Regions from separate parts of the Homo sapiens genome. Here regions 2, 3, 4, 5, 6 and 7 are each linked to region 1. The links are contacts of gene promoters, found by promoter capture Hi-C in blood cells and fetal thymus (Javierre and others, 2016). All regions are on one chromosome and are shown on one strand. The core of a region is centred on a gene start or on the middle of the fragment in contact, and the rest is flanking DNA. Distances in the headings are between cores, read along the strand shown. Region 1 holds the start of SRFBP1 (serum response factor binding protein 1). Region 2 has its middle 360 kb from the start of PRR16. Region 3 has its middle 110 kb from the start of CSNK1G3. Region 4 overlaps CSNK1G3 (casein kinase 1 gamma 3). Region 5 overlaps CSNK1G3 (casein kinase 1 gamma 3). Region 6 has its middle 39 kb from the start of CEP120. Region 7 has its middle 6.5 kb from the start of PRR16.

Evidence for each region. The method cuts DNA at HindIII sites, captures the fragments that hold promoters and counts their contacts. A CHiCAGO score of 5 or more calls a contact.
Region 2: a fragment that was not itself captured here is called in contact with the fragment with the promoter of SRFBP1 in region 1 in 1 of 17 cell types (naive B cells); the score reaches 6.3 in naive B cells.
Region 3: a fragment that was not itself captured here is called in contact with the fragment with the promoter of SRFBP1 in region 1 in 1 of 17 cell types (total CD4 T cells); the score reaches 5.1 in total CD4 T cells.
Region 4: a fragment that was not itself captured here is called in contact with the fragment with the promoter of SRFBP1 in region 1 in 3 of 17 cell types (non-activated CD4 T cells, total CD4 T cells and naive CD8 T cells); the score reaches 9.7 in non-activated CD4 T cells.
Region 5: a fragment that was not itself captured here is called in contact with the fragment with the promoter of SRFBP1 in region 1 in 4 of 17 cell types (naive CD8 T cells, non-activated CD4 T cells, total CD8 T cells and 1 more); the score reaches 9.7 in naive CD8 T cells.
Region 6: a fragment that was not itself captured here is called in contact with the fragment with the promoter of SRFBP1 in region 1 in 1 of 17 cell types (total CD4 T cells); the score reaches 6.2 in total CD4 T cells.
Region 7: a contact is called between a fragment that was not itself captured here and the fragment with the promoter of SRFBP1 in region 1, in 2 of 17 cell types (total B cells and naive B cells). The highest score is 6.2, in total B cells.

What each region holds. Positions count from the first base shown.
Region 1 is chr5:121,960,184-121,963,962 of GRCh38, reverse strand. SRFBP1 (serum response factor binding protein 1) reads right to left here and starts at 1,988. Exons shown (of 8, transcript NM_152546.3): 1 at 1,895-1,988. The coding sequence starts at 1,930. RefSeq lists enhancers at 2,003-2,052, 1,797-2,335. The HindIII fragment of the contact is 3,156 bases long and covers 612-3,767 here.
Region 2 is chr5:120,097,485-120,101,263 of GRCh38, reverse strand. No RefSeq gene overlaps it. Among named protein-coding and RNA genes, the nearest start is that of PRR16, 360 kb to the left of the region's middle. The HindIII fragment of the contact is 698 bases long and covers 1,703-2,400 here.
Region 3 is chr5:123,621,318-123,625,096 of GRCh38, reverse strand. No RefSeq gene overlaps it. Among named protein-coding and RNA genes, the nearest start is that of CSNK1G3, 110 kb to the right of the region's middle. The HindIII fragment of the contact is 3,284 bases long and covers 259-3,542 here.
Region 4 is chr5:123,604,219-123,607,997 of GRCh38, reverse strand. It overlaps CSNK1G3 (casein kinase 1 gamma 3), which reads right to left. Exons shown (of 14, transcript NM_001364140.2): 12 at 3,168-3,274; 13 at 2,636-2,659. Among named protein-coding and RNA genes, the nearest start is that of CSNK1G3, 94 kb to the right of the region's middle. The HindIII fragment of the contact is 789 bases long and covers 1,508-2,296 here.
Region 5 is chr5:123,588,206-123,591,984 of GRCh38, reverse strand. It overlaps CSNK1G3 (casein kinase 1 gamma 3), which reads right to left. Exons shown (of 14, transcript NM_001364140.2): 8 at 3,474-3,558; 9 at 1,427-1,575; 10 at 571-666. Among named protein-coding and RNA genes, the nearest start is that of CSNK1G3, 78 kb to the right of the region's middle. The HindIII fragment of the contact is 1,212 bases long and covers 1,501-2,712 here.
Region 6 is chr5:123,460,809-123,464,587 of GRCh38, reverse strand. No RefSeq gene overlaps it. Among named protein-coding and RNA genes, the nearest start is that of CEP120, 39 kb to the right of the region's middle. The HindIII fragment of the contact is 3,654 bases long and covers 239-3,779 here.
Region 7 is chr5:120,455,906-120,459,684 of GRCh38, reverse strand. No RefSeq gene overlaps it. Among named protein-coding and RNA genes, the nearest start is that of PRR16, 6.5 kb to the left of the region's middle. RefSeq lists an enhancer at 1,256-1,825. The HindIII fragment of the contact is 5,893 bases long and covers 1-3,779 here.

The sequences.
Region 1 (3,779 bases), core at 739-3,238:
TCTGCTGTATTTTTTTTTTCTAGTTGGTTGTCATTTCTTTTCTTTGGTAGGTTATTCAATTTTTATGTAGATAAATCTCTCTTTCCTTTTGTGGGTTTTTTTTCCCACTAATTTTAAATTATAATATCCTCCATCATCTCCACTTTTTTCTGTCCTTTTTATCTCCTTCACATTAGAACACACTAGACTTCAGTGGTGGATGTGTGTAGTTCCTGCTTTCACAAATTCATGTAATCACCTAGTAAACATATGTGCTACACATGATAGACACATAAACACAGGAAGACAGAAACAGTTACATAAGTGTTTCCAGAGGAGAAAGCAATCTGGGTGCACAAAGAACAGACACCTAACCCAGACCGAGAGGAGTTAATGAAGGTTTCCTAAAGGTCAAATTTTAACTGTTTTGAAGAAGAACAAAAGTTAGCTAAGTGTGAAAAGAGTCTTTAATGACTCATCCCCTGTCATTTCCATCATCAAAGTCATTACAAAATTTGATATGAAGCTCCCTGGGGTTGAAATCCCAGGGACATTACTCTGATCTTTCATACATCACAGGTAACCTAATGCAAAATAGCCCACCAAACGCTTTCTGGCACAAAGCACAAGCTTAATGTATGTTTATGAGTAAATAGTAACTACTTTCAGCTTCCCTCTTCAGCATATCCTGTACTCCACTGTCAACTGAAATCCTGACTCGTTAATCTGGCAGCAGAGAATATATTTCAGTTTTATTTCCTTCTTCATCTCACAAGTTCCCATCAGTGAAGAGTTACTTATCCCTGTATTACCCACGGGTTCTTCTGCTACTAGCCCTTTCCTGCTTATACCAGTCCCTCTGCCTGGAATGACTTCTTCCCCTTTCCTGAATCACTGACTGCAATTCCTGTGCAAGATCCCTAAAGACCAAGGACAAGTATCACCCATTTCATTTTGCCGCCTTTGGAAACTTTTCTGCATTACTAGGTTTTGGAGGCATTCTTCACACATTGTTCTGTAACACAGGTGAGTGTTGCTTAGCTCTCTTACTTGAGTATAGGTTACTAGAAAATATGAAATATCCCTTACACTACTGTGTGTAATCTAAACAGTGACTTGCTCATAAACGGGATAAAGAATTTCCTTTCTGTATCTAACTGTGAGGTCCTTACTCGATCCTTATGTTTCCAGCTTACTTTAAGACTTTGGATGACATTATTTTGTTGAATAGAAGCAGAAACCAGAGGGGGATAAGTGGTAGAAATGGTATTTTGTCGACACCGCACACTATGGAAGTGACGGTGGTGAGAACAAATGTCTGATGAGAATGGACTGAAAAAGCAGAAAAAAGAATTGAGGATAGCAAGTATAAACAGCTCTTTATTGAAGTTCTGCTGTAAACGGAAGCAAAGAAATAGGACACTAACTGGAAGAGGAAACGAAGTACTGAGCATACAGTCTCATTCAAGACCACCAATTTCTTAGAAGCTACAGCTCTTACTTTCTCTCTTTCATTTTCGACAGGCAATAAAGAGCAGGTAATGTGTACTGAAAGTTTATTAAGGGTCAGGCACTTGCAAATACTTTACGTATCTCAGTTAATCTCACAACCCTGGGACGAACTATCTTGAGTTCCGCTTTACAGACGAGAATATTGAACGTACAGGCTAAAGGTTCTTCCCAAAGTCCCACAGACATAAATTCGTGGGGCCTGACACATGTCTCTCACTTTAGTCACCTGGAGACCGAAAAGGGAAATTACCGGTTGCCAAACTCCAAGTTGCGGGAAACCCGCCTGGGCCCACCACGAAAGTTCCTCCAACCGCACCCTCTATGCCCGCCTCCGACCACGCGTCTCAAAAGAGCTGGTTTTGAGGACCCTTAAAGTCAGCCCCATAGGTTCCTCGGCGCTCACCTCGTTATTGAGGTTCAGAGTTCCCGGCTGAGCCATGGTAGATGAAGGAATATGATCCGCCGCTGCCTGCACGTGAACCGGTCTCTCAGACCGCGGCTGCGTCGCCACGCCCCTCAACGGAAGCCTCTTCTGTCCAAAACTCATCCGCCTTCTGCTCTAGCTGCCGCCTGGGAACAAGAAACATTGACGCTTGGAAGGGAAAACCGGAACTGAGACAGAACAACTACCGGCGCAGAGGGCTACGCAACGGAATTGCGCGTTCCTATGGAAACCAGACGGGGGCTGGTAGCTGGGCAACGTCTAGTTTTTCAAGATTCGGTTTGTGTGTGTGTGTGTGTGTGTGTGTGTGTGTGTGTGTGTGTGTGTGTGTTCCCTTGGTACACTGCGCTCGCATTGTACCGGCCTTGGTTTTTCTCTCTAATGGCTAGGGGGGCGCTGAACGGCGGTGAAAGAGCTCTTCTGAAATGATCACTTGAATGAACGATTTTTTGCTTCCATTTTTTTAAATCTAGTATTTGTGAAGATTTCTGCTTTTCTAACAAGCACACCTTTTTAAATCCTCGCAGTTTTTTGTTACAACCTGACATTATAGCTGAGGTGCGGACATTTTTTTCCTGCACACTATAGAAGGGTTTAAATTTAGGGAATAAACATTTGAAGCAAAACCAGGATACACATTTGGTACTGCCTGTGGGAATGGCTGTTTATTAGCCGGCAAGCATAGGAGACGTAAGGGAGTGTGTTTGAATTAGGTAATATATAATTGTCAACACCTTCTAGTATTGACCATTAAAATGTGTCAAATGGTGGTCCAAGAGCTTTACATAAATTAGCTCCAAATCTCCACAGAAATCCAACAAGATAGAAATTATTTTCCTTTTATTAATATTATTTTGTTAGAGACCCAGTCTCTCTTTGTCATCCAGGCTGGTGTGCAGTGGCACAGTCATAGCTCACTGCAGCCTCAAACTCTTGGGCTCAAGCCATCCTCTCACCTCAGCCTTCCAAATAACTAGGACTACAGGAGTGAGCCACCCTACTCTGCTCTGAACTATTATTTTACAGATGTGGAAAGTGACTTCAGAGGCACCAAGTGCCTCGCCCAGAGTCACTTGCCTGGGACTGTCCACTGCTACAGGACTTCAAGTCCAGCTACATAATACCTGGGGTACAGTGCAAAATGAAAATCCAGGCCCCTTTATTCAAAATGCAGGAAAAACGTTTCTTCCGGCGGAGGGTGGTGGCTCATGCCTGTAATCCCAGTACTTTAGGAAGCCTAGGCGGGCGGATCACCTGAGGTCGGGAGTTCGAGACCAGCCTGACCAACGTGGAGAAACCCCGTCTCTACTAAAAATACAAAATTAGCCGACCGTGGTGACGCATGCTTGTAATCCCAGCTACTCGGGAGGCTGAGGCAGGAGAATCACTTGAACCTGGGAGGCGGAGGTTGCCGTGAGCCAAGATCACTCCAGACTGGGCAACAAGAGTGAAACTTCGTCTCAAAAAAAAAAAAAAGTTTCTTCCATAGCGTCTCTTGACTCATCATGGTGTTTGTTAATTTACTATTTAATACGATGCTCCCTAAAGCACAGAGACATTAGGTTGTCAGGGCAGACCCTCAAAGGTGCCTGAGACCCCTGCCCCAAGACTCAGGTAGGAGTGTATACACTGGAGCAAGGTGGCAGCAGTTGCTGGGTGGAGACAGGAGAGCAGGAAACCAGAGAATCCACCTGAGGAGCTTTTGGGGACAGGACCACACATGACCTGAGACAACAAGGCCTTGGCACATGTTCCATTATCCCACTAGACTTCACTTACAAAACTCAAATTCAAAAAGGAAATCACTAATAATTTCAAGACTGTGCCCAAAGCTTAGTTAACCAAG
Region 2 (3,779 bases), core at 802-3,301, 1.9 Mb after region 1:
TTCCACATGTTTACAGCCAACTGATTTTCAACAAAGCCTCCAAGAACATTAACTAAATGAGACTGGAAAGTCCAGTCTCTTCAATAAATGATGCTGAGAAAACTGGATATCCACATGCAGAACAATGAAACTTGATGCTAATTTCTCTCCGTATATAAATATCAACTCAAAATAGATAAAACTTTAATGTTAGACCCAAGTCTATGAAACTACTAGAAAAAAATTAAAATGCTTCAGGACATTAGTCTGGAACAAGGACTTCCTGGAAATGACCTTAAAAGCAGAGGCAACGAAAGCAAAAATAGACAAATGGGATTATATCAAACTAAAAACTTCTGTAAAGCAAAGGAAACAACAGAGGGAAGAGGCAACCTGTATAGTAAGAAAAATACTTAGAAACTCTTCATTTGAAATTAATAACCAGAATATACAACGAACTCAAAACAACTCAATATCAAAATAAAACCCAAATAATTCAATTTTATAATGGGACAATGAACTGAATACACATTTTTCAAAAGAAGACATACAAATGGTCAATAGGTATGTGAATAAAAATGCTCAGCATCACTAATCATCAGGAATGCAAATCAAAACTACAATGAGGTATCATCTCATGCTAGTTAGAATGGCTAACAAAAAGACAAAAAATAACAAATACTGTTGAGAATGGAAAGGGGAATTCTTGAAGACTGTTGGTGGAAATGTACATTAGCGCAGCTATTATGGAAAACAGTACGAAAGTTCCTTTAAAAAAAAAACTAAAAATTTAACTACTATATGATCCAGCAATCCCAATACTGGGAATAAATCCAAAACAAAGAAAATCAATATGTCAAAGAAATATCTGCACTTCTATGTTTATTGAAGCACTATTCACAATAGTTAAGATGTGGAATCAGCCTAAGTATACATCAACAGATGAATAAAGAAAAGGTGACATATATTAACAATAGAATACAATTTAGTGATTAAAAAAAAACTTGTCATTCTCAGCAACATGGATGAGCTTGGAGAACACTATGTTAAGTGAAATAAACCAGGCATTGAAACATAAATACTATATGTTCTCACTTATTTGTGAAAGTTAAAATAGTTGATCTCACAGAAGTAGGGGCTAAAACAGTTATTAGTAGATGCTGGGAAGGGTAGGGGTTTGGGTTATAAGACTTACGAGATTCCTAAGCAAAGCAGTGGCTATAGAGGGAAAGAGAGAAAAGAGAAGGAGCAGTGGCTATAGAGGGAAAGAGAGAAAAGAGAAGGAGCAGTGGCTATAGAGGGAAAGAGAGAAAAGAGAAGGAGAAAGAGAGAAGAGAGAGTGAGAATACACAATGACAAAAATGAAAAACTGAGAATTTGAGCAGTTTAAAGTTGCAGACCAGTCATAACATAGAATAAATTGTTAGGTTTTTCAATTAAAAAAATACAATTTAGGATAAATTATAGGTAAGAAGGGAGAAAGTTGTACATGAAATTCCCTGAGCAGTTATGAAGCACAGATATTTGACAAGGGAGAATTGCACTTTCAGAATATGACACTACGATTCTAAGAAAATTCTTAGAAAATCTCACATTGGCTGTCATCCCAATATATACAGAATTTTTGAGTTTTATATCAATTCCACAGATATTTATGGTGTGTCTACTAAATAAAAGCAGAAAATTGTGCTGAGTGAAATATCAGGTTTATACCTAGGAAGCTTACACATTAGCAAAATAAATGAGATATTCCCAGATAGCTATCCTTTAATTCAATATGTGAAAAGTGACAAACGAATTAAGTGCCAGAGGGAAGATAGATTCCTTTTAATTCAGTATGACTTAAGTTTAACTTTTTTAAAAAGGTATCGACTAAACTACAAAAGATTCCACAGTACCACAGGCTGCAGTCTCAAAGATTGTTATAAGAATCTCGTATCTACCACAGTTCTACCTTCCTCTTTTTAGGCTTCCCTTGTGGATAGAATGTTCACTTGTGATAGCTCCCAGCTTATGTCTTCTTTGATTAAATTCCAAAAGAAAACAAAACAAAAATCTCTTCCCCAAAAGTTCTAACTAGCATTCTGGACCTGATTCTTATTTGTCTCAGCTAAGTTATATGTTTATCTGTGAAGCAATCATTACGGCTGGATGAAGGGCTGGGGAGCGTGGAGTGTGTAGACTGGCTTAAGTATATGTCATCTGTATGTGAGCTGAAGACAGTGGAGGAATGGTTTCAAAGGAATATCAAGTTACTGTTATGAGAAGAAGGGAAAATAAATGCTAAACAGGGAGACAGAATGTATATATAGAATGTATTTGCAACCAATCACAAAAAAGCCAATTAATAGTGGCTTATGCCATAAAGTATTTATTATTTTCTTAAGAAGTCCAGAACTAAGCATTTCCAAGTGTTAAGCTTTTAGCATTTTTCTACTCAACCACCCTCAGTATGTTGACATTTTTCCTATGGCTTCATATTCTCATACATCCACACAATAAATTCCTCCTCATGCAGCTTTCTCAGTGAGAAAAATGTATTCCAAAAGTACTCAGCACAAATTTGACTACATCTCTATGGCCAAAACTAGGTCATATGTCACAAGAGAGACTAGGTTGCCATTGTCACAGGAGACCAATCATGATTTAAGACTCTGCATTGGGCGTTTTGCAGTTCTAACTCAATTGTGGTATTAGCAAAGAAAAAGAGGTAACGGCTACCAGATAGACAGCCAATAAAATCTGCCAGATGTTCAGAAAGGCAAAATTAACCTGGAAGTGGTGTGCGGAATGGATGAAGGGGATAAGTTATAAGGGGCAGTGCTGGAGAACATACGGAGGAAGGGCATCAACCAGAGCATTGATGGTGAGAAACTCTCTAATATTTGTGTAAATGTAAACTTGGAGGACATAAACCACCATTCAATGTGAAGTTATTTTTAAACATTAGAAAGAAATGGAGATCCTACTTGGCTTTCACTATGCACCACCAGATTGTTTAATTGCTTTAATTTGCTCATATCCACATGAGATTACTTAAAATTGTCTAATGTGCCTCTCATTTAATTTCTATTGAATACTTTTAAACCTCCTTCTTATACTCCTAACAAACCCCTTTGGCTTCTCTCTCTGGCAAAGGCAGTGTGCAAAAGCAGTTTTAATGCCATCTTTTACATATTAAAATTTTTTCACTTCCACCAACTTAATTCAACGTTCAGCATTTGGCCTTTTGTTCTTTAGTTATTTTTTTCTGCTTGAGTTTTCAATTCTTCCTTAAAAAGAAATTAATACCAATTGAGCAATATGACAATTAAAAGCAGAAAATGACTAACAAAGGCAAAAACACTGTCATAAACAATATTACTACTTAGGGGTGTTTTTATTTTCTAAGAATAGGAAAATAAGCTCTGAAAAATTTTAGAATATTAATTTAAATTTGAATTATCTCACAAAGATTGACTAACAAAATATAATCATTTCTTTTACTATATGATTTTATATATAATCAAGATATATTTATATGACTTTAATATATTTATTTAATGTTTTCTTTCTAGGAATTAAAATAATACTATGTCCCAAGTTTCTGCATTGGTAAATTTTTCTGCCAAAAAATTCAAAAAGAAAATGTAGAGTAAGATGTGCTTTAATGAGCCACGTCTAGCTATATGTTAGGTTGAAATATTTGTCTTTTTTAAAGCAGTATGAATGCACAATAGAGGGTTTTATACATTGTTATCAACAAATTGAGAAACCAAAGCTTTAATCGAGTTAGCGTTTCCCAACTCCAGTAAAAAATA
Region 3 (3,779 bases), core at 651-3,150, 1.7 Mb before region 1:
TTACCAAGTACCAAGATGGTTCACCTGACTCACTTAGCTCCTGTGAAGGTATTTTTGTGCATGGATAGTTGTTCAAATTGATGTTTCTGCAAGGGGAAAGATCACTAAAAAGTCCTCTTCTGCCATCTTGCTTTGCCTTTTTCCATTCTTCTCCATTTTTATTTTTAACGTGAATAAAAGAGACATAATCTACTCTGCCAAACTGGTCCTCTTGCAGAATAAAGACTCAGCAGAAGGATAGTCTTGAGCATTAAAGCTTACCAGTCCAGGTACCAGAGCTTGTTTAATACATTTGGATGGAGATCTCTCTATATCTTTAGGACATAGTATACAGAATACAGAGTGTATAGTTTTCTGATTTCCTAAGCACTCCATACTAAGTTTAATATTTCACATTATTTAGGGCAATGCTTTTCAAGCATTTTTAAAAAGAAGAACCCATTTTTGAAACATTTTTCCTGGAATCTTAGTGTAACAGAAGGAAAGAGAGGGTAACAGTAATAACGTAGCAGAAAAAAGTGTAATAAATTGACTATTTAGAAAGGTGCAGCAGGGTTAAAAGAAGTCAAAAAGGCTGATTATATTCCTGGGTGTGGTATTTCACTGGAAAAAGCTGCTGTTGACCAACAGACTTTCTAAAGCCTGGTTATTGGAGCAAGGCACTTGCTGATCAGCTGTTGTCTAGAAGCATGGGGCTGTCATTAACTTGCTTACTTTCAGAAGACTAGAATGAAGCTGTTGTTGACTAGCTTATTTTCAGAAGCATGGCCAATGGATGATGTCATTGATTGATTTTTTTTGTATATTTATTAAAGTTATCTTAAATTAACAGTGGTTACTTGTTCACAACTTCAGGCTTTGGCTAAAATTCAAATAGCCTTTTTCTTTCTTGAATATGAAATGTAAGTACTTTCAAGTCTTACTCCCCACTTTTGGTATTCATTGAAACCTGTAGGAGAGATAAGGGATTGTTCAGATGTTTATTTGTGGAGGAATAATTTTCAGCTGCTGTTACCACATAAGTAATTTAAGCATTCCACATTACTGTGGAGTAAAAATAGCTCTAATTGCCAATATTCTTGCAATTTATCAAAAAAAAAAAGCCTAATAAATACAGGACATTTAGGGCACCTGACAAAGTCAATAAAGGATTCAGGACAAAATACTGTACAAGGAAGACATGATTGATTTTCTACCTATATGACATTTAAAATGAGATTTTCATTTCCAAGACTTAATTTAAGATGGCTAGAATGTAATGGTATAAGAATAATTGACATGTTTAAATGATTTTTTTGCAATGAGGATGAAGGTGAAAATAGAAGATAAAAATCATGAAAGGGATTGTTATATATACCATCTACCATCTGGTTAGAGATGACCAAATGATTCACTCCAGAAAACTGAGCAGGAAGTTTGAAAACAATACCAAGAAGTCTTCACACTAATGCACATACAAGACTATGATCAAGAAGACTTACAAACAAATCAGGGTAGTGTAAGTAAGACATAGAAATCGTTGACATGGTATGATGAGGTTTCTGACTGGAATACACACTTATGAGAAGGAAGGGGCAGAGGAGTATACTGAGAGGATGTATACTTGCAATGAAATTTAGTACACCCAAGGTAAATGCACTGTGGAAAATATTTGAGCAAAGAGAGGGGAAATTAAGATACCATTATGAAAGTACATTACAAAAGGCCAGGCCAGTTAAAGAAAATCAGTATTTAAGCACACAAGTCACTGCCTGACACAAGGTGTTCAAGAGGAGCATAAAATACTAAACATAAAATTGAGTAGTGATAGAGGCCCCCAATTGTCTGGAAATTTCTAATTCTTATTTTACTTCAGCTAGGGTTTCTGATGTTCTCTTTTGTGGGAGCTAAAAATCAATACAATGTATCTCATGGAGATAAAGAGTTGAAGGATGGTTATGAGGCTTTGAAGGGTAGCGGGGAGGGGGGTGGTGTGGGATAAACTGGGGATGGTATTATGGGCACAAAATATAGTTAGATAGAGCTGGGTATGGCGGCTCACACCTGTAATCTCAGCACTTTGGGAGGCTAAGGCAGGCGGATCACTTAAGATCAGGAGTTCGAGACCAGCCTGGCCAATATGGTGAAACCCCATCTCTACGAAAAATACAAAAATTAGCCAGGTATGGTGGTGCACACCTGTAGTCTCAGCTACTCAGTTAAACCAGAGGTTAGCTGAGATCGTGCCACTGCACTCCAGCCTGGGAGACAGAGCTAGACTCTGTCTCAAATTAATGTATGTGTATATATACACACATATACACACACGTGTATATATACACACATATACACACGTGTATATATACACACATACACACGTGTATATATACACACATATACACACACGTGTATATATACACACATACACACGTGTATATATACACACATATACACACACGTGTATATATACACATATACACACATGTGTATATATACATATACACACGTGTATATATACACACATACACATATATACACGTGTATATATACACGTATATACACGTGTATATATACACATATATACACGTGTATATACACATATGTGTATGTATACACGTATATACACATATGTGTATGTATACACATATATATACACACACACATATATACAGTTAGATCTAATGAATAAGATCTAGTATTTGGTAGCACAATGTGGCTATAGTCAACAATAATTTATTACATATTTTAAAACAACTAAGAATGAAATTGGAATGTTCCTGACACAAATGACAAATGCTTGAAGTGCTGGATAACTTAATTACCCTGATGTCATTATTACACATTGTATGCCTGTATCAAAACATCACATGTGCCCCATATAGATACCTATCATGTACTTGTAATAACTAAAAACAAAAACAAAAAAACTTTAAACCCAGAAATTCTGTAAATTCTTTATATGCCTAAAATCTAATCTTCCAGGAAATAGAGAAAGCAAAAATTGAAGCTACTATTCTGTACCACAAAAATGACCAGCAAGAGGAATTTGTTGATAAAGCAGAAGGGTCAGGCACCTTGAGAGAATGTGAGCATCTCATCTTAAGGTCTATGATACCTTGTGAAAAGAACTCAAGACTCTGATTTCATTTCTGCAATGAAAAGTGATCCTAAAAAGCAAAAACGTTTGAGAAAAGAGTCTCCTAACAAGCTCAGCTTTTAAAAGGGTATAGGAAATAAACGTAAAAAAAAAAGGTAACATCTTTAAGGTTTCATATTAGCTCGAGATTCTTTTTAATGCTAAAGCCAACAAAAAAAGAGCTCTATAATCTGTATGTGGAGCCATATGTAAAGGAAAGGCTGAGGGATGAGGAAGAGAATGTAAGGCTCAGCTTTTTAAAATCAAGAATAATCTTTAGCCTGAAAAGTTAAGTGGGGAAAAAGGCAAGAAGGAAATAAAATCCAAAACTCATGTCAAACTCAATCCAATTCCTTTTTTGATGGCATAATGAGAATGAGTGGGCATGGAAACAGACCAAATGGTTTACCTGGATTTCAGCAAAGCTTCTGATAAATAGCTAATAGTAATTAAGTGGTGTTGAAGGACTCATACATTACAGAGAACATTTAGACATGTTATTGGTTCAATGAATACTGACCTTAACATGGACTACAGCTGCTTCAGACAGGACTGATATTGACCTTAACATGGACTGCAGCTGCTTCAGACAGGATTTTGCCTGGTCCTCTCCTGTTGTCATTTTTATCAATAAATTAAAGATTTCGAATTTGTTGATGTCACT
Region 4 (3,779 bases), core at 653-3,152, 1.6 Mb before region 1:
CACAGCAAGATTCCATCTCTTAAAAAAGAAAAAAAATCATGCTCAAATTTCTTAGTCACAGATTAAGAGGGTATGAGGAACACAATAACAAACGTGTAGAAATGTCAGAATAAACCTAAAGAAAAAATCTTGTTTAAATAGAATGTTTAATCAGCAAAGAGGTAGGAAAGTTCTGAGGATTTCTGTAACCTACCTAACCCACCTGAAGTAAGGCTTCACTGATATTATGAGTTGCTATACTTTTTTTAAAACAACCATTTTATTAAGATATTTTTCACGTTATAAACTTTATCCTTTCAAAATATATAATTCAGTGTCTTTTAGTATTCAGAATTGAGCAGCTATCACCACTATCTAATTTTAGAACATTTCCATCACTCCATAAAGAAATCCCATCCTCCTCTTCCCTGCCCTGGGCAATCACTAATCTTTTGATGTCTATGTATTTGCCTATTCTGGACATTTCATTTAAATGGAATCACATAACATGTGGCCTTTTGTGTTTGGCTCCTTTCATTTAGCACAATGTTTTCAATTTCATTTCTTTATATTGTCAAATGGCAGTCCATTGTATGGGTATACCACATTGTTAATTATTTAGTAATGATTTATTAGGACATATAGCCACTAGGAATCTGAGGATGAAAAAATACCTGTTTTCAAGAAATTCAGTAAGTTTCAAGAAGTGGGAAGTACATACAGAGGATAACATAGCAAATGCAGATTTAAGGAACCAATGCTATATAAAGTTCAGAATGGAAAACGGAGCTGCAAAAATAGATGGGCCAGACTATGACAGGTATGAGAAGCCTTGGTGCCATGCCAAGAAATCTGGACATGATGTGGCAGGCAATGGAGAACCCTTCCTATAGCAATAGCCTTCCCACCACTTTCTTCTTTCACATCCTCCAGTGTCTACAGATAGGGACCCAAACACACACCCACACTCATCCCAACTAAATAACTGTGCCATTCTTCAGAGCCACCTCCATCAAGTATTCTCTGATCATCCAGGTCAGGAAGTAATCTTTATCTTTACAAGCTCTAACCATTTTTTAAAATACCTTTTTTATCGTATTAATCACATACTGACATATACTAGTACAACTGCAATCTTCCTGCTGGCTTGTAATCTACTTAAGAACAAGGACAGCATCAGGTATGTCAGAAACCTCAGCAGTGTAACTGCTGAATGAATAAATGGATAAATGTAATAGATTTTATTAAAAGCAAGTCTCCAGGAGGATGTAAACACAGAACAGCCAGTTTCAGTGAAGAGTGTGTGTATGGAAGTAAAAATATAGGACACAGATAAAAGAGGCACAAGCCCAAGAACAGAGATGAGAAACGTCACCAGCAGTTGGAAGAGAAGAAATAAATAGGGGTGATAATAGCTATTGAGTACCTGCCGTGTGCCAGACAAAATACCAGGGCTTTATCACATTTAATTTTCTCAACCTATGAAGTAGGTATTATTAGCTTCATTTTACAGAAAAAGAAACAAGCTTTCTTGAAGGTAACAAATAAGTGGCAGAAACAGGATTCTATAACCTATGTCTAACTGCAAAGGACATGTGCAGTCGAATCTGCCACACCACCACCCTACTTTCCTGTCTTAGGATTGTACCTAAAATTCCCAAACATAAGCTGTTGTTTTTATATTTGATTTAAAAACACACAAGTAAGACTATACTTTCACGGATTTATTTCTGTAGTTCATAAAAATATACAAGTATATAGCTAATTATATCCTGACATACACTAGTCTTAATCTTATGTCAATAAATTCTATAGTCAAAAGTGATTAAAATGGATTCTTAATCACTGCTCTTTAACAAAAAAAAATCCACAAAAGTTTCCTAATTTTGCAGCCAACAAATGAGCATAATTTTGAAAATTATATAAGGTGCCTTTAGATATGAGTAAAATATTTCAAAATTTACTAAACTAAGCAACTTCCTTTATTCACTCCCAGTCTGACTCAAAATTTGTCCTGAAACTGAGAGAAGCATTTTAAGCACAGTATTACAATTAAAGGCAAATGTCAGAAAATAATTTAAATCTAAAATTATTTCTATTAATGTTACTTTCCATAATATCTGCAATTATTAGCAACCATTTAGATGAGGATTTTTAAAATGGCTTTCTCACTACAAGGTTATCATGAAATTTATCAATATTGTACTCAAGGGCAATGATAATTGGTTAGTAAATGAAATACTGTTTTAGTGATACTACTGTGGGGGATGAGATCTGCTACATGTATTTAACAATTGCAAAGAGAAAAAAGAAAGCTTAATGCAAAAATCTATCTTTCTATTTAAATAGCAAATAAAAACTATTATAAAACAAATGCACAAGCACAAGCAGGGTTGGTGTATCATCTATGCAATTAAAAAGTGGCCCCAAATCTATGTCACTTAAAGTAAAAAAGTTGCAGCAGGCAAAAGAGCTCCTCAAACAATTATTTCTTGCTTTTCAGAGCTATCTTAATGATATCAAATACTTTTGAATAACTTTTACCAATTATAATCACTGTGTTGAGAGTTTTGTTTTCAAAAGACACAAAATGATGCTAAATCTTTGAAATTACAGTCAATGGAGCTATTTCTGCCTGCCTACACTTGAGACTCACCACATGTTCAACACTTTCTGGCAGCTATACGCACACACAAAAAAAAAAATACAAGGAAAAAAAAGAGAGAGAGAGAATCAGAAACAGCTCACATTGAAATTATCACATTGTTTTTCATGCTTAATTTTTTCCAAGCAATGTTGTTATAATTTATGTTTTGAAAAAACTAATTCAAAATATTAAAACATGCATTTTATAAAATTAATTTCTTATGCTTACAGAAAAAAGATTGATAGTACATCAATAACTTTCATGCATCAACACTCCTAAAACTCAAAAGCTAAAAATATGTTGTTAATTCCAAATAAGAATTTGAACACAGTTCTTAAATATTTTGTATTATTAAAATGTTTACTGGAATAGCACTATTTTAAACTCATTCTAGTGATTAAAATAATTAAGCATACCACTTGTTTTGCATGCACCTATTCCCTGAAAAAAATTTCCTGAAATAATTGTATGTAACTATAAATCTCAAGCATGCATAATTTAAGAACAAAAAGTTACTAAAACAAGTAAAACAAACACATACTTGGTTTCATCCATCACTTCTACTTCAGTAGGGGCTGTGATGGGTGCATTTGAACGTCCTGCGGTGGGGTCATCTGTGTTTAACTCTCCATTTGTAGAACTTACAACCTGTTTGAAAAAAAAATTTTTTATATATGTATATGTACACACACATGCTCATAAATATACATACATATTAAATAGGTTATACAAGGATAAACATAATTGTTAAAGTATTTCAATTAGAAAGTTAATGTGAGGAACACAAAACAATATGTAGCTGTTCATAACTAAATACAGTAATTGGTCTAGCATTTTATTAAAGATTAAAGTCATCTAATATGCGCTTTTCAACTTACTTCCTTTCCTTATTGAAATCTGTGTCTTCTGTCTCCTTCCCTCTGGTTTTTAAGGCTAACTCCTGCATGTATGTCTCAATCAGTTTCCTCTTGTGTGTCTATGTCCTCTGGCACCTTGCTATATCATGAATTACTTTCCTTGAATATTGAAAAACTTCAATATTACTCCTTCTAATGGATCCTTCACTTCAATCTGCAATTATGCTCAAGTCTCCATTTCAAACTGCCCATTTAAATAGAGACAACACCATTCATTCACCCAGTTGTTCAAACGT
Region 5 (3,779 bases), core at 857-3,356, 1.6 Mb before region 1:
TATGCTCTAAATTAACATGCATTATTTCCATTTTATAGATGAGGAAACTGAGGCTTTGACAGATTAACTTATTTGCCCAGGGTCAAGCCATATCCATGTATGCCTGATTCTAAAGAATTGAGTGAACTCTTAGCTACAACACTGCTTTTAGACACTGGTGACAAAATCATTCTTAAAGGTTATACAGTCTTCTTTACTTCTGAATTTCTATAATGTGTAGAACAGTAGCTTTACAATAGCAGAAATTCAATAAATAATTTATTGAACTAAACTACAGTTAGAAAGTCCAAGTGTTATTACAATTCATTCTAATAGGGTATCCAAATACTTCCATTCTAACAGAATATCACATATTCCTAAAAGTTTACACTAATTTGTACCATTAATTAAGGATTTATGATTAAACATTTTAATGCTATTATTAAACTAATAAACAGTGAAATTAAGAGAAAATAGATTATCTATTAAAAATATGTATTTTCAATCCTTCAGTCTGTTTTATCTATTGAAGAAAAAAGTGTATGTTTCAATCATGAAAGGAAGGTATTTCATATCTAAAGGGCAGCAAACCTGGTTTTTGGATTGTTGCATCTTATCTCTGTGTTGATGTGCTTCTCTGTTTGATGACAGAGCAGGATCTTGCTGAACTGCACCCACTGGAGTAGGCTACAATACAATAACAATTGGTATCAATACATTCCATTTTAAAATTCTTATTTAAAATCATTTAGCTGCTTAAAAGAATTAAGGAAAAAAACAAAAGACTGTTAAATAAACTAAGGCTTTAAGTAAAGGCATCATTATCAAAATATGTTGTTAAAGCTAAGAAGGTAAAGCAAAAAGAATATACCTACTTTTTAAAGTGTTTTTAAAATATTCAAATTCTTTATAAAGTACTTATTTTTACATCTACAGAACACTTAATGCTGCCATTACTTTTAGGCTACATTTTCATATCAACATGATAAAAATGTATATGTTTATGCCTCTCATTTCCAAAGCAAATGTATACATAGAATAAACTTTTAAGAAAATTAAAAGAATAAAAAAACTAATAAAATTACTTATTTCCAATATTTTGACTTGAAGAGACTCATACAAATTTTAATTTTCATCAAGGGATTGAAGTATTAAATTAATCATGAGAATATTACACAAAAAAGAGTATATTTGACATTAAGAACTAAATCAGGATGAAAAGTTAAAAGTAACTCTTCATGCTAAAAGGCAAAGAATCCAGATGTAGGGCTTCTGAAAAACTCAAAGAACACTAGTACGGCACTACCTGCAGAAATGTCCCTTAAAAAACAATAAAATGAATCCTTTAAAACAACTATTTGTTCTCAACTCTTTTCAATTGAAGATATTGTACTATTAAAAAGGCAACAGATACTGTAAGTAATATATTATTATATAGAATACTCACCAACTGTTTACCAATCCAGTCATATTCATAATCAAACATATATCCTTTTCGATCAAACAAGTCAGTAAAAAGCTTTCTTAAGTAGTCATAGTCTGGTTTTTCAAAAAAATCTAGCCTTCTTACATAACGAAGATATGTTGCCATTTCTTCTAGAAATAATATAAAAATTATTTGGACTATACTTTTCTTTAATACTCAGTAATAAAATTAAGTATCTAAAAGCACATTGTATTATATAAAAACACTTGAAAAGTAACAAAATTACATTGCAATTTAAATTTTTCTGAGTTTAATTACAACAAAATAAAAAAGAGGAAAAGAAGGAAGGGAATAGAGACACAAGAAAAATGGGAGGTTTAGTTTAACAACCACTATTTTTGCTTCATTTCATTAGGAAAAGCTAAAATTTTCATTTTTATAAGATTATTTTTAATATTTGGTAGTATGAGAAGTTGAATAAGCAGTTTAATAATGCATGATTAATCACAAAGCATCATATTCAGTTTATAAATTTAAAATTTTATTTAAAATACCGGTGAGAACTGATTTATATGAAAGCATCTGTATTGGCTTGCTGGATTTCCTTTAGAATCAGTGACATAAACCAACTAACTAATAGAGAATTCAAATTCCTAACCTTGGCTTTGAGCAGTATTCTAACCAATTAAGCTAACAAAGGAAAGCTAAAACAAATCTCAAAAACATAACACAAGAGGACAGTGTAAGTCTTCTCTTAATTTCTGGTCATATATTTAACAATTATTTGGCGATATACAAATCTCTGCATGCTATTATAATTCCAAAATGTATTAGATACATGTATCTAATACATGCAAAAACAAACAAACAGACAAACAAATATATAAATATAAAACAATGGGCAAAATGGTGAGCAATTAGTAAAGCAGGGCATTTCACCATCAGGGCACAGAAAATCACTACAGTAAGAGATGGTAAGTTACACCTAGCATTCACAGGCAGCCCCAGCCAACAGGAAAAAGATCACACCCAGCACAATGAGGCAACAAAAGTGGTGTGCAGTGACCTTCTTTAGGTGGTGACTCTCCCACTATTCCACTTTCTAGCTAAATACCTGGCTAATTTGATTTGGCAACCCCATTTTTCCCACCTTTATATAGGCTTCCTTAATGACAACTACCCTATCTGCCTACACTAAACTGCTAGTACTATTAACCGACATTTTAAAAAATCTACTTCTAGATATTATAGCAAGAAAGGAAAATATATAATTAAAGTTTGCTGTCAATGAATAATATAAACAAGCTTGAGAAAGAGCTACTTTTGTTATGTTGATAATATTATTATTACATTAATAACGCCAGCATTATACAGGAGAACTACGGAATACTAAAGTGAGATAGGAATTCCGTATTTTATCTTCAAATTTAGCTCTCTTTTCACTTAATGTGGCTGCACAAATAAATCACAGTCATTATCTTAATATACTAACAAGTTATTCTTATTCCTTAATTGATGTAGAAATCTTAAGTAAATTTTTTTTGGCTTAATTTGAGTTGCCATAAATCTACTTGAAAGCAAAATTATTTTCATAAATGCATACAGCTCCCCAATATAAAATTAGCCCCAAACTAGTGAGGTCAGTAAGGTTTTACTGGCCTTACTTAATTTAAGTTTAATTTGAAAACTAAACCAAATCATACTTCACATACCTCCTTTGAACTTGACATTGAGACCCAAATGACTAACACTGAATACCAAAACTTTGTAACTGGCATTTCTTAGCAAAAATTTTAACTCATTAAAAGTATATCACTAAAGAAAATATTACTTCAGCTGGTAATGATCAACACTATTAACAGACAGGATTTTCTTCTATTAATACCATTTGCAAAGCAAATACACAAAGTGTCCCTGTGGGTTCGGCATCAAATGCTGACAACCTTTAAATCATATTTTTAGCTCTTTTTTTTTTAAGCATAGAAAAAAATATGTATAAACTTAAGCAATAAAAATTAGCATTTCTAGTTTTCTGTATATAATGTATCAACCTCACATTATTCATTACCTGGAAAATTTTCACATAACACTTCTATTGGTGTAGCCCGTTTTGTATCTCCAATTTTCTGATACCTCTCCTTTAATGTGTCAGCCTAAAACAGAAAAAAAAAATCTTGAGAATGTGGTAATTTAAAAATTATTTAGCTGGGACTGCACACGGTAGCCTGTAATCACAGAGCTTTGGAAGGCCAAGGCAGAAGGAATGCTTGAGCCCAGGAGTTTGAGACCAGCCTGGGCAACACAGGGAGCCCTGATGCCTACTTACAAAATAAAATTTTAAAATATGAAAACTGTTTAGTTGGAAGACAGGACC
Region 6 (3,779 bases), core at 816-3,315, 1.5 Mb before region 1:
TGGTGTTAGGGAAAATGTGTATCCACATACAAAACATGAAATTGGACCCTTATTTTACAACATATACACAAATTAACTTGAAATGGATTGAAGACTTAAATATAAGGTCTGAAACCATAAAACTCTTAGAAGAAAAGATAGGAGAAAAGCTACTTGACATTGGTCTTGGATGTGACACCAAAAGCACAGGCAACAAAAGCAAAAATGAACAATTGAGACTACAACAAACAAAAAAGCTTCTGCTTGGCAAATGAAACAGTCAACACAATGAAAAGACAACCTATGGAATGGGAGAAAATATTTGGAAACCATGTAACTGATAAGGGATTAATATCCAAAATATCGAAGTTCCTTAACTCAGACAACTCAATAGAAAAAACTCAAGTAACCCAATTTCAGAAGGGGCAAAGGACCCGGATTGACATTTTTTCAAAAGAAGATAGACAAATGCCCAGCAGATCTGTGAAAAAATGCTCAAAATCACTGATCATCAGAGAAATGCATATCAAAATCACAATGAGGTATCACCTCACACCTGTTAGGATGACTACTATGAAAAATAAAAGATATAACAAGTGTCAGTGAGGATATGGAGAAAAGGGAACCCTTGTACATTGTTGGTGGGAATAAAAATTGGTACAGCCATTATGGAAAACAATATGAAGTTTCCTCAAATAATTAAAAATAGAACAAGATATAATCTAGCAATTTTGTTTCTAGATATATATCCGAAGAAAATGAAATCAGTATCTTGAAGAAGTATCTACACCCCTGTGTTCATTGAAGCATTATTCACAGCAGCCAAGAGATGGAAACAACCTAAGTGTCCATCAACAGATAAATGAATAAAGAAATTGTGGGACATATATACATTAGAATGTTATTCAGCCATAAAAGAAGGAAATCCTGGCATTTGCAACAACATAGATAAACCTGCAGAGCATTATGCTAAGTGAAATAAGCCGGACACAGAAAGACAAATTCTATAAGATCTCACTTAAAAGTTGAACTCAGCTGGGCGCGGTGGCTCACGCCTATATTCCCAGCACTTTGGGAGGCCGAGGTGGGTGGATCGCCTGAGGTTAGGAGTTTGAGACCAGCCTGGCCAACATGGTAAACCATCTCTACTAAAAAAAAAAACAACAACAACACAAAAATTAGCTGGGCATGGTGGCGGGTGCCTGTAATCCCAGCTACTCGGGAGGCTGAGGCAGGAGAATCACTTACAACCTGGGTGGCAAAGGTTGCGGTGAGCTGAGATGGGGCCATTGCACTCCAGCCTGGGCAACAGAGCGAGACTGTGTCCCAGAAAGAAAAAAATTGAATTCATATACAAGCAGAAAGTAGAACAGTAGTTGCCAGGGGCTGGGGAGTGGGGAAAATGAGGAGATTGTTGGTCAAAGGGTATAAACCTCCAGCTATAAGATGAACAACTTTTGGAGATCTAATGTACAGCATGAGTGGTGATAGATGTGTTAATAATAATAATAAATAGCTTTATGGGGGGTTTACAAAATAAGCACAGATTAAGAAACTCAAATATTCAAGGCCAAGTTTCATGCTATACTTATACAGGATGATGAACAGTTTGAATTTCAATTCCTCCACAGGAAGAAAGCAGAGACTGAGATTGACCACCAGAGTATATAAGTAGGTTAGGAATTCTGTTTAAAGCTACTGCAAGTGATGCTCACATTTGTTGCCATTAAATTACGGATCTAAAGGGTAGTTAGTGATTCAATATCAGACTCTGCCTGGTGATAATTAGAGAGAAATAACTTTTATAACTGTGTATTATATGTTTTTTCTGGATTCTGAAATGACTTACTTATTCACATACTAAAAAAAAAATCCATCTCAGTGAGAAATAGGCAGATGCCTAGAGCATATAACAATTTTGTGCATACAGGACATTGTGTTAAAAGTGACTAATGACAATTAACAGTTAAAAATAGATACTCACCTAGAACACCTATACAATACACACATTACATTTCTAAAGGGCTTAACAATTAAATGCATTCAATGCTAAAACTACCTGGACCATAATCTCGTATTCGAGACCTTGTAAGCTCTTCATTATGAACATTATTTACTGTAGATATTTGGAAGTGTCACAAGATAGAATGCCTGGGCAGACATGCTTTTGTGTTACATACACTATAAATGTATGGTACAAACTATAAATCAGGTTGACTTCTCATTTTTCAAGTGAGAGTGAATTATCACTTCAGCCTGGTAATTGGTATATTATGTGAGCTAGTTGATTTTTTAAACTTTAAAGGTAGTATGTAATGACACATGCACAAAAATTTATAATATATTTCAGCTTGCCTGAAGTCAAACTTCAGACATTAAACACACGGAATCAATGCACTACTATAAATAGAGAATAGTAGATAGCATTTTATTTGGTCTTTAGAAGATCAGTGTGAAGGAAGTTTGGGCAAAACAGCAAGTGTTTAAACGGAAAACAGTGTGACAGGGATTATGGCAGGGTTGCAGCATTGGCAATTAGCTAATGTCAATGATACACTTAAGAAACACTGTGCAAGACAGCTAATAAATCACAGCCAACCATCATTAATAATCCATGACAGAAGGGAAAAGAGAAAGAAAGGAAAGAGAAGAAAAAGGTAGAGGAGAGTGCTCTGTAGTGGGCTACACAGTAAAAATGAAGTGTGCTATAATTAGAATTATTTCTATTACCAGAGGACCCAGGAAAGGCTTTCTAGTGAACAATTCAACAAATAACCAGGGGGTTGATAAGCATATTGCTAAGTTATGAGTTTTTCACGTCTTCCATTTCATTTTAATTGTGTGCATGTGAGTATGTGTGCCTTTTAAAGTCATGGTACCAGATGACTTTATAATAAAAGGCACACATAGATATAAGGGAGTTAATTTTGACTTCCTACATGTTTCTAAAAATATTATAATTCCAAACAAAAAGGTAGGTAATATATTGCCATATAGTCTCTTTTGGAACTTCTTAACTGGACAATTTGCCAGCAGCAACATATAATAACCACTGGACTCAGAAAATAGTACCCCAAAAGGAAGGCCTCAGAAGCAAAGTTTTTCTCTGATCTGCCCTCCTATCTCTCACTCTCGTTTTCCCCCAAGGCTAGCCAAAGAAATTAGGATCCCTCTTCCCTGAGGTGAGTCATAGAAACCAGAATCCCTTCCCTCAGAGCCAGCTATAAAATCTAAAAATATTATAACTTTCTCACCCTGCTCGTAAAAACTGGCCATATCAGGAGTTCGAGACCAGCCTGGCCAATATGGCAAAACCCTGTCTCTACTAAAAATACAAAAATTAGCTGGGCATAGTGGTGCATATCTGTAATCCCAGCTACTCAGGAGGCTGAGGCAAGAAAATCGCTTGAACCCAGGAGGTGGAGGTTGCAGTGAGCCGAGACCTCACCACTGCACTCCAGCCTGGGTGACAGATGGCAGAGTGAGACTCTGTCTCAAAAAAAAAAAAAAAAAAAAAATAGACTAGTCATAGGGAAATTATCTGACCTACTTTGTTTGAATATAGGTCATAAGAGTCCCATTCCTGAGAGGGTCTCACCCCTCACTCAGAAGGAAGGAATACATGATCAGAGAGGCCAAAAAGAATCTAGACAGACAGGCCATGCTGGGCTTCCCCCCTTAGCCTATTAACATTAGATCTTACCCTTTTGTCCAATCATATTTTTACACAGCTTCCGTACTTTGTTGAACCCAAGCATGAAAATGGACAATTTCCCCTCTATCTTTGGGTTTTCATTCTG
Region 7 (3,779 bases), core at 865-3,364, 1.5 Mb after region 1:
TGCTTTGACCTTGGGATTCACAGGCCCCAGAATTGTGAGATATGAATTTGTATTGTTTATAAGCCATCTAGTCTGTGGTACTTTATTATAGCAGCCCAAATGGACTAAGAGAACATCCAATGTATGTTAATTGGAAGACTTTTTAACCATGTGACAAAATCTGAACTTTTGCACAACTCAACAGAAAAAATCGTCTCATAGTTGAACCATAGAAAAGTGAGGATAAAAATATCCTCAGGTAGAATTGGAGGCAGAAATTCTAGAATCATTGGGACTATTTCTTTCTGACTCTATTTCCCACTCCTCTTTTGTGGATTGGCCTCTTGCCTGTATACCATTTTCTCCACAAAATTGAACCTTGATCACTAGTAAGTTCAGGCTCACATTTTCACAACTTTACAACTAGAAAAGGATGGTCATCACAGCAAGCTCCCAGGAGAAAATTTTTATAGATCTGGCTTAGATCATGGACACACACTACAGCCAATCACTGTGATTTGGATGGGGTTGTAGAGTACAAAGCTACTATTACATTTGTGCCATTCTTATAGAAAAGTCATGGGTGTGTATATTTATTACTATGATTTTCCAGCAGATGTCCGTGAAATGAGTTATTCTCTCAAAATATGTATATTATGATAATTTTCTGATAGTTGGAAATTATGTATTTTTAGAAAGTGATTCTATTTTCAAAATTAATGCAAAGAAAGACAACATATGAATTAGCAGTCATCCTTCATGGGTCAGTAACCGGTAGTGAAGAAGTATAATGATTCACTCAAATTGGATAAAATTGCCTACCCTGCGGCCTATTTCTTCCCCCTCAGAAGGTGACATACCTCTGAAAAAATAAAAACTATATATATATATATATATATATATATATCTCCACCATATAGTATTTATATTGGATTATTGTGGGCAGCAAGCCACCCAGGTGCCAAGGTAAGAGACCGAGGGCACAAGCTGTTCCAGTATCATAAAGAAAATATATAGAATAAGAATAGTTATACTAGAAATAGAATATAGATATGATTACATATGAATATTATTAATCATTAATTTGTAGCATTACTCTTTATTCCAATATTATAATAACCTCTGTTCTACAATTATAACCTAGGAAAAACCAGACCATACAGAGATAGGAGCTGAAGGGACACGGTGAGAAGTGACCAGAAGGCAAGAGTATGAGCCCTCTGTCACGCCCAGACAGGGCCACTAGAGGGCTCCTTGGTCTAGCGGTAACGCCAGTGCCTGGGAAGGTGCCAGTTGCCTAGAGGACCTTGGTCCAGCGGTAGCGCCAGTGCCTGGGAAGGCACCCCTTATTTAGCAGACGGGGGAAGGGAGTCTCCCTTTCCCCGGGGGAGTTAGATAAGACTCTGCTCCACCACCTCTTGTGGAAGGCCTGACATCAGTCAAGCCTGCCTGCAGCCATCTGGAGGCCTAAATGTCTCCCTGTGATGCTGTGCTTCAGCGGTCACACTCCTGTTTCACTTTCACGTTCCGCTCTATACACCTGGCTCCGCCTTCTAGATAGCAGTGGCAGAATTAGTGAAAGTGTTAAAGTCTTTGATCTTTCTGAGAAGAGTGTAGAAGAAATAATGACGTAAGCTGTCCTCTCCCCACCTCAGCTACCTAAAAGGGAAAGGCCCCCTGTCCGGTGGACACGTGACTCACGTGACCTTATCAATCGTTGGAGATGACTCACACTGCTTACCCTGCCCCTTTTGCCTTGTATACATAAATAGCAGTGCGGTCAGCCATTCGGGGCCACTACTGGTCTCCGCGCCTTGGTGGTAGTGGTCCCCTAGACCCAGCTGTCTTTTCTTCTATCTCTTTGTCTTGTGTCTTTATTTCTACGATCTCTTGTCTCCGCACATGAAGAGAAAAACCCACAGGCCCTGTAGGGCTAGACCCTACGGATTATATACTTTACTTTTATCTCACAGATGGACATTTTTTAGTTGTTTTTGCTTCCCCAAATTAGCATCTATCAAGTCCTAGATTTGGCATTCAGTTTACCCATGCCAAGAGCCACCAACCCCCTCATCCTTTCCAATCTCAGGCTCAGGTCCCATCTATAAATATCTCACCTCAAACATCCCAGTCCTCTGTTGAACTGCCTACCAAAAGAGCAAGCAATGCTCAAACGATTACTCCATTTCACTCAAGTTTTTAGGAATTACCACTTGTCCAGAAACCCTGAGGCCAGTGCCTAACAGGGTAGTCCCAAACTCATTCTACCTCACAGCTTCAAATTGCTGGATTAAGTGGTAAGAGAACCTAGGACTTTACATATTCCAGGACACTCACAGCCGTGGCCAGGGAGTTGTTCCTAAAATTTGGCCAATTGCCACTCTACACAGCTTAACAGCCCCTTTCCTTGGAAGTGGATTCAGCTAGAACAGAGGACACCTTAATCACTTAGCAGAACTCAATACACGCATGCATCAAGATAATTGAAAGCCCTATACAATCATTCAGATACCCAGATAATTTTGAAGGTACTTGGAGATTTCTGTCCTTATTAAGTTTCAAGGTCCTTTCCCCGCTCCAAGGAAATGAGTAACTGTGATCAAGGATAAAATCACAGAGGACAAATAAGTTGTCAAAAGCTATACCCCATGACCTTCAGATATAAAACCATACTCCATTAGGTGTTAGGTGGTCACCAATACTGTGTGTGACCACATAGAGTATGCAGTTTTAGTTCTTCATCCAGGAACTGGAATGGAATGACTGACATAGATCTGCAGCCTGGCAAGTACGTAAGGGCATTCTGTGTAAGGCTAAAGTGTAAGGCCTTAGACAGCATGCCAATCTGAACTGGTGGACCTTGATAAAATCATTTCGATCTACAATGATGCCACTAATCTATTTAATTGGCATGCTGCTTCCACTATCTACCCCCTCCTTACCACAAGTCGGTGAGCTATGATTTATGCCTCAAGCCTGTCTTCAACTGTATAAAATGATATTGTTATCGATTTGATGTTTGTGTCTCCTCACCAAAATTCCTATGTTGAAGCCCTAACCTCCGATGTGAGAATATTTGGAGATAAGGCCACTGGGAAGTAATGAAGGTTGTATGAAGTGGTGAGGGTGGGGCCTTTAATCTAGGACTAGTAACCTTATAAGAAGAATAAGACCTCTTCCTTTTTTCAACAGTAAAGCAGCAGGTTATAACGGAAACGCGATGGATTGGACATTTTACATTTGAGACTAATGTTCTGCCAACAGCTTTGTAATTTTAGACACTAAAACTCCAATAGCATTTGCTTCTTTATCTGCACACGTGGATATAATACTTATTTATCAAAAATGGGTGGAGAATCAGAAGAGATAATTATGTGAGAATGTTTTATTATCTGTGAATTACTGAACAAACGTTAGCCATGGTTATTCTTTTCGGTGTTTACTTTGATTGATCTTCTGTGTGCATCAAGGAACTTGCTAACTTCACTGTTTAGGATTTGGCTGCTTTCCAGAATTACTTGATTAAGCAAATCCCTCTATAACAGCATTTTTCAAAGTATGTTCCAGCAGTTTCAACTGACATAAAATTTTGGAAACTCTGCCTTCTCTATACCCCACTTTTTGTAATGATGAGGTTAAATATCAGGATATTAAAGTTTGAAAAATCTTACCAGTTTAAATTTAGTCTCCAAATTTATTTTATTTGACAATGGAATCTCCCTTTTTTTGTCTCTCCCTCTCACCCTCCATCCTTCCACTCTTCCTTCCTTTAACCTAACACTTATAAATAGCCTGTTAAA